Regions from separate parts of the Homo sapiens genome. Here all the other regions are linked to region 3. The links are contacts of gene promoters, found by promoter capture Hi-C in blood cells and fetal thymus (Javierre and others, 2016). All regions are on one chromosome and are shown on one strand. Each heading gives the region's core, a stretch centred on a gene start or on the middle of the fragment in contact. The rest is flanking DNA. Distances are from core to core; before and after follow the strand shown. Region 1 has its middle 24 kb from the start of CTPS1. Region 2 overlaps CTPS1 (CTP synthase 1). Region 3 holds the start of NFYC (nuclear transcription factor Y subunit gamma).

The links. Contacts are between HindIII fragments. The CHiCAGO score rates a contact against its expected background, and 5 or more counts as called.
Region 1: a contact is called between a fragment that was not itself captured here and the fragment with the promoter of NFYC in region 3, in 1 of 17 cell types (endothelial precursors). The highest score is 5.3, in endothelial precursors.
Region 2: a fragment that was not itself captured here is called in contact with the fragment with the promoter of NFYC in region 3 in 1 of 17 cell types (erythroblasts); the score reaches 5.1 in erythroblasts.

The regions. Positions count from the first base shown.
Region 1 is chr1:40,953,373-40,957,166 of GRCh38, reverse strand. No RefSeq gene overlaps it. Among named protein-coding and RNA genes, the nearest start is that of CTPS1, 24 kb to the left of the region's middle. The HindIII fragment of the contact is 261 bases long and covers 1,316-1,576 here.
Region 2 is chr1:41,001,006-41,004,721 of GRCh38, reverse strand. CTPS1 (CTP synthase 1) reads right to left here. Exons shown (of 19, transcript NM_001905.4): 10 at 3,605-3,693; 11 at 2,468-2,562; 12 at 1,546-1,608. Among named protein-coding and RNA genes, the nearest start is that of SLFNL1-AS1, 12 kb to the left of the region's middle. RefSeq lists an enhancer at 582-731. The HindIII fragment of the contact is 1,538 bases long and covers 757-2,294 here.
Region 3 is chr1:40,690,182-40,693,892 of GRCh38, reverse strand. NFYC (nuclear transcription factor Y subunit gamma) reads right to left here and starts at 2,189. Exons shown (of 10, transcript NM_014223.5): 1 at 2,026-2,189. It overlaps NFYC-AS1 (NFYC antisense RNA 1), which reads left to right and starts at 1,632. Exons shown (of 1, transcript NR_024567.1): 1 at 1,632-3,711. It also overlaps a transcript of RIMS3 not described here. RefSeq lists enhancers at 1,202-1,251, 1,272-1,441 and a silencer at 1,682-1,781. The HindIII fragment of the contact is 4,450 bases long and covers 1-3,711 here.

The sequences.
Region 1 (3,794 bases), core at 197-2,696, 260 kb before region 3:
CCAGGCTGGAGTGCAGTGGTGTGATCTTGGCTCACTGCAACCTCCACCTCCTGGGTTCAAGCAATTTTCCTGCCTCAGCCTCCTAAGTAGCTGGGACTACATGTGTGTGCTACCATGCCCTGCTAATATTTGTATTTTTAGTAGAGATGTGGTTTCACCGTGTTGGGCAGGCTGGTCTCAAACACCTGACCTCGTGATTTGCCTGCCTCGGCCTCCCAAAGTGCTGGGATTACAGGCGTGCACCACCATGCCCTGCCCAAAATAACTCATTTTCTATAGGGAAACACATAACATTAAATAATAATATCCATACTTTTATGTTAGAAAAATAAGAGAAAATTATTAAGTTAAAGAAAAGCCAATATTTTATATGTACTTGCAAAATAAAGAAGAATTTATCAGTTGCAGCTGATAAACAGATAAACAAATCATGACTAGGATCATAGTCAGACTATTCTGTGGAGTGTGGGACAATGTGGCCATGACAAAGTCTTTCTGGCGGCAAGTGCTTTGAATAAAATCTTAACCACCAAAATAATTATTACCTAATTCAGGAAGTTCATAGAGGAAGCTATCTAACAGTGTTCAAATATGTTTTGGCTCTTGTCAAATTTTGAGTAGTTGAATAGGTCAACATGCTTGTGGCTCATTTATGGCATGCCAGTTAGAAAGCTCAGTCCTAACTAATAGAAATAGGGTTTCCAAGACAAAATATGTTATGTGGTCAAATAATTTTGGAGAATTCCATGCTAAAGTTAAAATGCACATTGCATGCTGCAGGAATTCTCAGAACCCTTAAGATGCCAGTGCCCGCTGTGATTTTTTTTTTTTTTTTTTTTTGGCCTTCAAATGGAAGTGGGCAAGGCACAGAAACATGTAGTTTCACGTAAACACAAATGCACAAAAAACATATAAAAATACTCAACCTCACTCATAACTCATATTCACAATAAAACAAGATAGGCCGGGTGTGGTGGCTTATGCCTGTAATCCCAGCACTTTGGGAGGCCGAGGCGGGTGGTGACACCTGAGGTCAGGAGTTTGAGACCAGCCTGACCAACATGGTGAAACCCCGTCTCTACTGAAAATACAACAATTAGCCGGGCGTGGTGGCGCGCGCCTGTAATCCCAGCTATTTGAGAGGCTGAGGCAGGAGAATGGCTTGAACCCGGGAGGCGGAGGTTGCAGTGAGCCGAGATCGCGCCATTGCACTCCAGCCGGGGCAACAGAGTGAGACGCCGTCTCAAAACAACAAAAACCGAAAGAAAACAAGATAGGATTTGTCACGTGGAAGATTGGCAAACTGGAAAAAGCTTTATAACGTCCAGCGCATTTGAGTGGGAACAAGTGCTCTCACAGAATGTAGGAGGCTGTGTAGATCTATAACTCTTTGGAGGAAGTATTGGTTAGGGATGATGCCCACTGGCATGTAACAGAAAGCCAGACTTCATCGAATAGGGATTTGTTAACTTTCAAAAAAAGATATTAAGTCTAGAGACAGGCGTCCCAGGCTAGTGCAGCCTCTCTGCAACATCACCAGGGTCTCAGGCCCCTCCACCATGCTTAGTACAAAGCTTTTACTCTCACATTTGCCTCACTGTGACCTCATGGTTACAAGATGACTGCTTTACCCCCAGCCTCGGGTTCACATTCCAGGCAAAAAGAAGGGAGTGGCAAGGAAGAAAATGTGGTGCCTCTATCAGGAAATGAATGCTTTCTTAGGTGCCTCCAGCTGACTTTTATCGACATTTGAGTATGTGGAACTGGCCGCCCCTAGATGCAAGGAGAGCTGTGGATTTTTTAGCTCAGCACATTGCCTATTTGAGTGAAATCAGATATTGATTTACCTGATCTGGCCTCAGCTGACTATCTCTTCTCTTACGATTCTACTCTGACTTCTGTTCTTCTACCTCACTGACTTTCACAGGTACTGTTAGCATTTTACCCAGATCCTTTTAAGATCCCCTTTTCCTTCATGTTGTGTGTGCCCCCAACTTTGCTAAGCTTTTTCTCTTAACATTTAGTACTTAGTACCCAACACCTAGTACCTAGTACCTATGGCTCTTTGGATAGGGCGCTACTGGAGCCCACTTTGCCCAGAGGAAGTGCCTGAGAATTTACTTGAAAAAGCTCCCTGGGATGACCCTAGCCAGATGTTAATGGGAGGAGAGTTTGAAAGTCTCAGCAACCTTGCCTTAGGTTGGAACAAACACTGAGGTGTAACTTATATGCCAGAGCTCCCCTTCCTACCCGACTCTACCTTACCCCACCCCGCCCCACCCCCGTGGGATCAGGGTGAGACTACCTTCCTCCGGATTTCGCATGAAATCACACGCTTGCTTGGCTTCCTCCTCTTCCCTGCCCTGCTTCCCCTACACCCTTGCTGGTTATTCCCCACCCTACCCCTAAGGGAGCACTAATCAATCACTTATACAGGAATCCTCTCAGAGTCTGCTTCCAGATCGCCTGACCTAAAACACCAGCCAACTTGCAGTTTCTAGAGCATGCTAAGCACGTTCCTATCACAGGGACTTTGCACGCTGCAGGAATACCTCCCCCCAGACACATGCACGGTTCACATCTGCACTTTGTTTGTGTCTTTGCTCAAATGCCACCTTATCAGTGAGTATTTTCTTTTTTCCTTTTTTTTTTTAGACGAGTCTCGATTTGTCGCCCAGGCTAGATTGCAGTGACCCTATCTTGGTTCACTGCAACCTCCACCTCCGGGATTCATGTGATTCTCCTGCCTCAGCCTCCTGAGTAGCTGGGATTACAGGTGTGTGCCACCATGCCCAGCTTATTTGTGTATTTTTAGTAGAGAAAGGGTTTCACCATGTTGCCCAGGCTGGTCTCGAACTCTTGACCTCATGATCCACCCGCGTCGGCCTCCCAGAGTGCTGGGATAACAGGTGTGAGCCACTGCGCCCGGCCATCAGTGAGTATTTTCTTAACCACACTGCCTGAAATAGAACCACTCCATCAACTTCTATCCTTTACCCTGCTTAATTTCTCTATGCAATTTAGCACAGCTTGGCTTAACAGTATTTAATACACAGTATTTTGTTTATTGTCATTCTCTCCTACCATAATATAAGCTCAGAGGCCAGGAACTTCGTCTTGTTTTATTCTCCTCTGTATCCCCTGCACTGGAATTGATTAATGCCTGCCAGAAGAAAGGCCTTGTCCGGGTGTGGTGGCTCATGCGTATAATCCCAGCACTTTGGGAGGCCGAGGTAGACGGATCACCTGAGGTCAGGAGTTCGAGACCAGCCTGACCAACATAGAGAAACCCCGTCTCTATTAAAAATACAAAATTAGCCAGGCATGGTGGCACATGCCTGTAATCCCAGCTACTCGGGAGGCTGAGGCAGGAGAATCGCTTGAACCCTGGAGGCAGAGGTTGCAGTGAGCTGAGATCATGCAATTGCACTCCAGCCTGGGCTTGAAACTCCATCAAAAAAAAAAAAAAAAAGAAGAGGCTGGGCGCGGTGGCTCACGCCTGTAATCCCAGCACTTTGGGAGGCCGAGGCAGGTGGATCACGAGGTCAGGAGATCGAGACCATCCTGGCTAACACGGTGAAACCCCGTCTCTACTAAAAATACAAAAAAAAAAAAAAAATTAGCCGGGCGTGGTGGTGGGTGCCTGTAGTCCCAGCTGCTGGGGAGGCTGAGGCAGGAGAATGGCATGAACCCAGGAGGCGGAGCTTGCAGTGAGCCGAGATAGCGCCATTGCACTCCAGCCTGGGCGACAGAGCGAGACTCCGTCTCAAAAAAAAAAAAGAAGAAGAAGAAGA
Region 2 (3,716 bases), core at 276-2,775, 310 kb before region 3:
GCTCAGTCAGAAATGAACTGATTTCAACTCAACCTTTCTAACCTTCATTGAACTTACCGTCTAACCAAAGCAAAACCACTAAAGACCAAAAGGCAAAGGACCAAGTTCCTGGTACTATGTGAACGCTGGGCACTGTTCTCCTCCTGGCCTGAACCAGGGTCCAGTCTCAACTGAAGTGTAAGCTCATCACCAAAGCACCTACCCATTTGGGAACCTAAGTGAGAGGCAGAGGTCTGGGGCTGTGAAGGATCCAGGGAGACCAGAAAGCCAGCTCTGGGGTGGCGGGTGATAAGACAGTGCCTCTCAGGACTCAGAAGCCAGCACTCAAGGGCATGCTGTCTACCAAACTAAGCCACACCGCCAGGTCACTGTGAAGCAGCCTCTCAGGGAAAGGGTGAATGAAACCCAGCCCTAAACCATATGCTGGCCACCAGAGTCACTTGTTCTTTATAAAGTCAAACTGCTTTTACATTCCTTCAGGTTACTTTATTTTCCACAGAATTTACAAGGTCTTTCTGAAAATCTAGTATTTGTCGGGTGGGCTACAGAGAATAAATGGGCTGTGGTGGACCATTCCAGGGTGGCCCCAGTGCAGCATGCTCAGTCTTCACACCCATGTGTGTTCTCCTCCCCTGCCGGCTCGGGGCTTGGCCACGTGACTTGTTTTGGCCAACGGGACATCAGCAGGCCTGATAAGTGCCTGCATAACAGGCCTGTCATTTTGGAGTCCAGCTGCCCACCCTGTGTGAGGAAGCTTGGGCTGGATTAATGAATGATGAGCCACTAGGTGGAGACAGCATCTTGACGTCCCGGCTGGGCCGAGCTCACAGCTGAACACAAGGCAGGAGTGTGCCATCTCAGATAGTACACCACGTGCAGCTGAAACCCAGGCACTGAGCCAAACCACAGAATACTGAGATGAGAAGTCACTGCTGTTGGGAGCCACTGAGCTTTAGGGAGGTCTGTCACATAGTAATACACAGCTAGGCGAAGAGCTGATATTATCTGAGCATTTCCCTATTTTCCAGGCACTACTAGAGACTATTTACATACATTATCTCCCTTAATCATGTGAAGTACGTACCTTTATTACTCCCATTTTACAGAAAAAACGGAGGCCCATAAAGGCTAAGTAAATTGCTTAAAATCACCCATAAGCGGTAAGGTTGGAATCTGAGCCCAGTTTCAATAGCTCCAGAGCCCAGGTTCTCATAATAACTGCCCAAGCCTCACTTAGGACAAGGACTTCACACCAGGCACCAGCTTCAGGATGGTGGCCACGGTGATCAAAGTGACAGAATCTCAAGAACAGGAACACAGAGGCAGAAGGCAAAGGAGGGAGTCTGGCTGTGCTCCCTCCTTCCTGCATGGAGGAGCCGTGCTGTTCCTCAAGAGGCAAGGCAGCTCCCTTACGGCACACCATGAGGTGCTAGGAACCCAGGCCTGCCCTTCTCCAAAGCTCCTGATCACCCAGGCGGCAACAGGCCTCATATCCTCCAGAAATACACAAGCGGGAATTGAATGAGTGTCTTAATGCACGCTTACCTTGCCATCCCAGCACGTTTCTTGAGAATTCAACCACTGCCAACTGCATCCCTAAGCACACGCCTTCCAGTCGGGGGGAAAAAACAAACAAAACTCCATTGAAAAGGCAGCTCCTACTTTTCCCAGCAGCCTCTGCAATGGCCTTTGTGTCCTTTATTTGGAGAATTATAATTGCAAACTCATAACTTCCTGCTATGAACAAGTACTCTCTGCTGTTACACTTTACTTGTATTAGATTTCAAAAACTGCATGTAAAGTAGATGAAAATTCTAGATTTGCAAAGTTATCCGATTTTAGAAGTAAGTGATATTCTATTCAGTACTTTTTTCCCCCCAGACAGGGTCTTGCTGTTGCCCACTCTGGAGTGCAGTGGAGAGATCTTGGCTCACTACAGCCTCAAATTTCTGGGATCCAGCAACCCTCCTGCCTCAGCCTCCACAAGTGTTGGGTTTACAGGTGTGAACCACCGTGCCTAGCCTCAGTACTTTAAAATTCAAGTTTTCTTACCCTCTCTCATTAAGTTTTTATTTATAATTGTTCAAGTTGAAAATTACTAAAATGTACAGCACCAGGAGGCATGCAAAATCATTTTGTCCAATTACAGTCAGCTGTTGTGCCAAGTGAGCAGATATAAAACTCAACCTCACGTGTGCTACAAACAGCTGGGTTCATTAAATGGACAGGAATTCACAATTCATTCTCTCAAAATTCCACGACATCTACATGTAGCTCATAAGCATAAATAAGCTTTCCAAGACTGAATTTGTCTCTAAAGAGAAAACATGAAGGCTTCTACTTGAGCTCCTATCCACAAAGACAGCATGTTTCAGTAATCCCCCCACTTTGTTCATAGGCTCCCACGTGGCACCGTTCCCCACTCTTTCCTACTCTTAAGTGAAGACTGCACTGCAGAGCTCCTTACCCAAAAAAGGCTTTTTCTGATTCCGAGCCCAGGCAATTGCTTGGATTTTTCCTTCTGTTCCTCGAACACCAAATCCTCCTGGAACCAGCACTCCACTGCACAAAAGAACAAACCACAAAGGCAATTCCCCTTTTCTACCAGTCCAACTTGCAATAATCGCCTAACGGGCCATTACCAAGACACTGAAGCCATGAATTAACCCCATACATTGTGCTACTGTGACAATGAATTGTATGTAAACACTATCAACTTAGAAACTGCATATGAAACTATGGACTTTTCTTAGTAACTTAAGAACATGCTTATTGCAAGTGAAAAAGATAGTATACATAATTGTAATACTGCCACTGCACTATCTTTGGTACTGAGTTGTTCACAATTTTTTTTTCTTGAGACAGGGTCTCACACTGTTACCCAGGCTGGAGTGCAGTGGTGTGATCACAGCTCACTGCAGCCTTGATCTCCCAAGGAGCTGGGACCACACCCAGCTGGTTTTGTTGTTTTTGTTGTAGAAACAGGGTCTCCCTATGTTGCCTGGGCTGGTCTTGAACTCTTGGGCTCAAGCAATCCTCCCACCTCAGCCTCTCAAAGTTTTAGGATTACAGGCATGAGCCACTGTGCCCAGCCCAAAATTTTAAATACATATATTAATATTAACAATTTATCTTACCTCTTGGCTTAAAATGCTCCCCTAAGGGGGCCTTTCTTCATCAGCTCTGTGTGCCGTACTGACCAAGACACTCAGAAGAAGGTGTACACCTCCGTAATATTCAACTGTTCTAGTGAACCAGAAATTCTTGCTAATGTTTTACTATTATAAATAACAGCTGCCAAAACAACTGATGAGACTCTACTGATGGGTACTCATCAAATGTTCTGGATGAAAAATCCTTAAATGAGCCTCATCAATAGATGCATATGGCAAACAATATCAAAATCAGAGCAGCTTTTCAGATCCAATGATATTGACAAGCTGCATTTTTTAAGGATTAAATCAGATGGCATGTAGTCTTTTCAACAATTAAAAAATATTTTAACAAGTCAATTACCTACTACTGGCACATGAAAACAAGAGGACTTTTTCATTAAAACAAACCAAAAGAACTCTGGAAACCCAAGGCAGCGAACTCTACTCACTGAGCACTACAGAGCTTCTGCCAAGCTTCGTGGTAGCGCACGGGCTCTTCTTGCGAGGTGATGGGCTCCAAGTCCGCAGAATCTATGTACTGGATGTTATTCAGACAGGGGA
Region 3 (3,711 bases), core at 940-3,439:
TGAATCCTTAAGCAGCACAAGAAATTCTTAAGAATTATAGTCTTCCATTTTATACACTCTAAACACCCAGAAATCAAAGTAGATGATCCACTTGGAAATACAAAATTATCTGGAAGTTTCATTAGTCAGGTTTATGTTGATAGCTGATGTAGCAGATAAAATTACAGGCTTTGGCATCAGGCAACCAGGGTTTGAATTCTAGCTCAACCACTTACTGAGTGACACCAGACAAGCTACTTAAACTCTCTGATCCTCAGTTTCCTCATCTGCAATATGGGGACGATAATGCCTACCTATTGGAGTTAAAATATGCCCCAAAATAGCAATTCTCTTCCTCTGCTACTTATCAATTCCCTTCTCCAGAAAATGTAGTTGCATTCACATAAAACTAAATTTGAAAACCCTAGGAGTTTCTTGAAATTGGTATGAAAACAGAAGAGTACCATCTAAAGCTAAAAAGGACTACCTAACAAAAACAAGGAAAAACAAATTAGGAAAACACAGATGTTTAACATAAATGTGTTTCCATGGCCCTCACACACTGGGACGAGCAAATGTAAAGCAATACAAGTAACTACGATTCAGATTCAGTGGAAAAGAACATATTCCCAACAAGTTGACTGGAACGACTCTGGATTGGAATAAAAACTTTTTGAATATGAACCAGAAAGTGTTGACAAGTCCTGTTCCTTAAGAAGCTATGCATGGGCTTTTTTTTGGTTTGGAGCTGCTTATTTGAAAAAACAAACAAAAAATTCAAAGTACACATGGGAATGGGTATACTTTTTAGGCACATATACAAGGAAATAAACCAAGACCGAAAATTTCTGGCTAGCTCCCTTTCCCTTAAAGGGGAACCTAACAATATTTACTCAACAAATAACTACCAACTACCTAATATTTGCTAATGTGGCTTTGGAAACTCAGCCATGACCTGTATCCTTCCTAGAGCAGCAAATTTCATATACAACATCTCAAAACTACTTGTATGGTCCTGAGACTCAATAATGTATAACTGTTCTATTAATACACTTCCCAAGTCCGAAAATGTCCCCTAAAATGCTTCCTATATCAGATTTTGTCACTTTAAATCTGATACTACTTAATGCTGTGCTTCCTAGGCTCGGACAGAGCACACTTCTCAATAGCATTCCTCTCTCGGTTTACTTGCTCCTCACATCACATCCCAGGTCCGTTGACTCTGGACTCCAGGGCTCCACCAAAACCTCAGTGTTTGAATGCTTGCACTCTCCAGCAAAATCCCTGATCCGATTCTACCGTTCAGCTATGCCCCTAGCCCTGATGCCTTTCTTCCTACACCATACACTCACACCGTGGACTTCAGGGCCACTTCCAAACTGGGTCACATTAGCAACCCTGGATCTCGAAGACTCTCAGCCTGTCACTTGGGTTTCGGTGTTTCCAAGCCTGGAACCCTGAGGGCCTGCACACCCCAATCTTGGGCCATGCATGTACCAGGAAAAGCACCTCTGAAAGTGAGTGTCCCCCATTCCCAGGCCATGGCCTAAGCTACCCCCAAAGTACCTGCCAGGCCATCACCCTCTCTTCCCCCTTAAAGCCTCTAGGCTCGCCCTCTCGCCGCAACCCCACGCCTGCGCCGCAGGGGGTCATTGCCCCAGCCGCCCTAGCCCAAGACGCGCGCATCCCCGCAGCCTCAGATTCCTTCATCACCCCCTAGACCGGAGCTGGCGCGTCCAATAAGGTGCCAGGTCCGCGGCCTCCCCGCCACCGACCAATCACGAGCGAGCCCCCCCGCCGTCGCCTTCCGCCAATGGGAGAAAGCCCGCGGGCCGGGCCGACGAGGCACACGGACCCCACGAGCGCGGCGGCGGCGACAGCAGCGGGCCAGGCAAGAGCACAACATGGCGGCGGGCAGGACGGACCGAGCTACAGCAGCGGCCGCGCGAGGAAGTGAGGTCTCTGGCGAAGGCGGGAAGCGCTGCCCCTCCCCCCGCCGCCGCTTCCCTATCACCCTCGCACAGAAACTCCCGCACACTCACACACCTCTGCTCAGGAGTCCAGGAAGAGCAGGAGCCGCCCCCGCGCTCCTACGGAGTCGGGCAATGCAGAGGCCCAGGCGCGGCGGAGGGGAGGGGGAAGTGTGCGTCACGGAGAACGGAGCGCGCGCGAAGCGGGGGCACAAGCAAGATGGCGGCCACGCCGTTTGCACCGTTTCCCCTTTTCCCTTCCCCCTCCCTTGGCGCCTGGACTCCCAGTATCGTGCGGTGCGCAGAAGCTGTGCTCCTTGAGGTCTCGCGAGAATTGGGAAGGGGCGACGACAGAGGGAGGCGGAATGAGATCTGAGAGTTTTAACCCCGCCCCCTTTCGGGAGCTCGAGATCTGAGTTTTGACCCCGCCCCCTTTCGGGGGATCCGGAGGCGCTGCCCAGTGACCTCCACCACCCTGCCTATCCTTGTGGATCTCCTTGGTGCGAGCTTGAATTTTAGGAAATAAGTAGGTGTGTGCGCGTGCCCTTGAGTTTTAGGAACTAAGTAGGGGCGTGTGTGTGTATTTGTGTTTTTAATTTGGGGAGAAAGAACTGGGGGATGAAGGTCGACATGGCGTTCCAGATTAAGCATGCCGTTCAAGTAGACAGCTACTGGCACCTTAAATTCATAAAAGAGCATTTAGCACCAAACTGTAAAGTGATGTCCTCTAGAATAAAGAACAGTACTTACCAAGAATAGTTAGCTTGTAACCTTACGTCGACATAGTTGTTCTTATTTGAATGCAGATTTTAAAGTTTTATCACGCAGTTGGAAACCACAGCTACTATGAGCATGGATTTTTTCATACTTATCTCTTTCATTTCCGTGACCACTTGGTCCAAAGGCATCAGGATTGTATCCATTTTACAAATGATAAAACTGAAGCTCAAAAAGGTTAAGTAACTTGATCTAAGTCCCCACAGCTAGTAAGTGTCAAAACCCCATCCGAATAACTTCAAAACCTGTAGGTATAGTCATCAAATGTGTCTTGAATGGAATTACCTACAGTGAGAGTTAGTGCATTAGGTAACAAGCGCAGAGAGGAATGACTGCCTCTGCTGATGGTAACCTTGAATTTTACAAATGACACTGGAGCCTTTCTGAGACTAGTGTTGCATGGGTCCTCAATAAAATCACACTGTTGTTACTCACTTCCTTTGGGTTTATAACCCTGGTGATAAAGTAATTGAGAATAGTGGAGTAAACCCTCGACTTGAATTCAGGAAAATTGTTTTCAAATCCAGTTTCAATAAATCTCACATCAGGCACTCTATTTGATGAATGAATGAACAAAACCTAACTATAAGACACTTGACTTCAGGGAGTCTCAATTCCTTCATCTGTAAAAAGATCTAATTCCTAACTTTTGGTAATGTTGGGGAGAGTGAATGAAATAATGTGAGAGTGCTTCGTAAATTGCAAAAGTGTTATAAAGAAGTTACTGGTAAGAGCTACGAGTGTCTCGCTGCACTCTAGCATGGGCGACAGTGCGAGGCCCTGTCTCAGAAAAAAAAAAAGTTACTTATAATGACATTTTCAGACATGAGAAATGGCATAAAATTAAAAACAGATTCAAGAGAATAGTATGTTGAGATTGTAGAGACAGATGTAGCTAATGGAAAAAAGCTAAATAAGTCTCTCTACAGATGTTTATTGAGTACTTATTGCATATACTATGCTTGCCAAAAAATGTAAAAGTGTA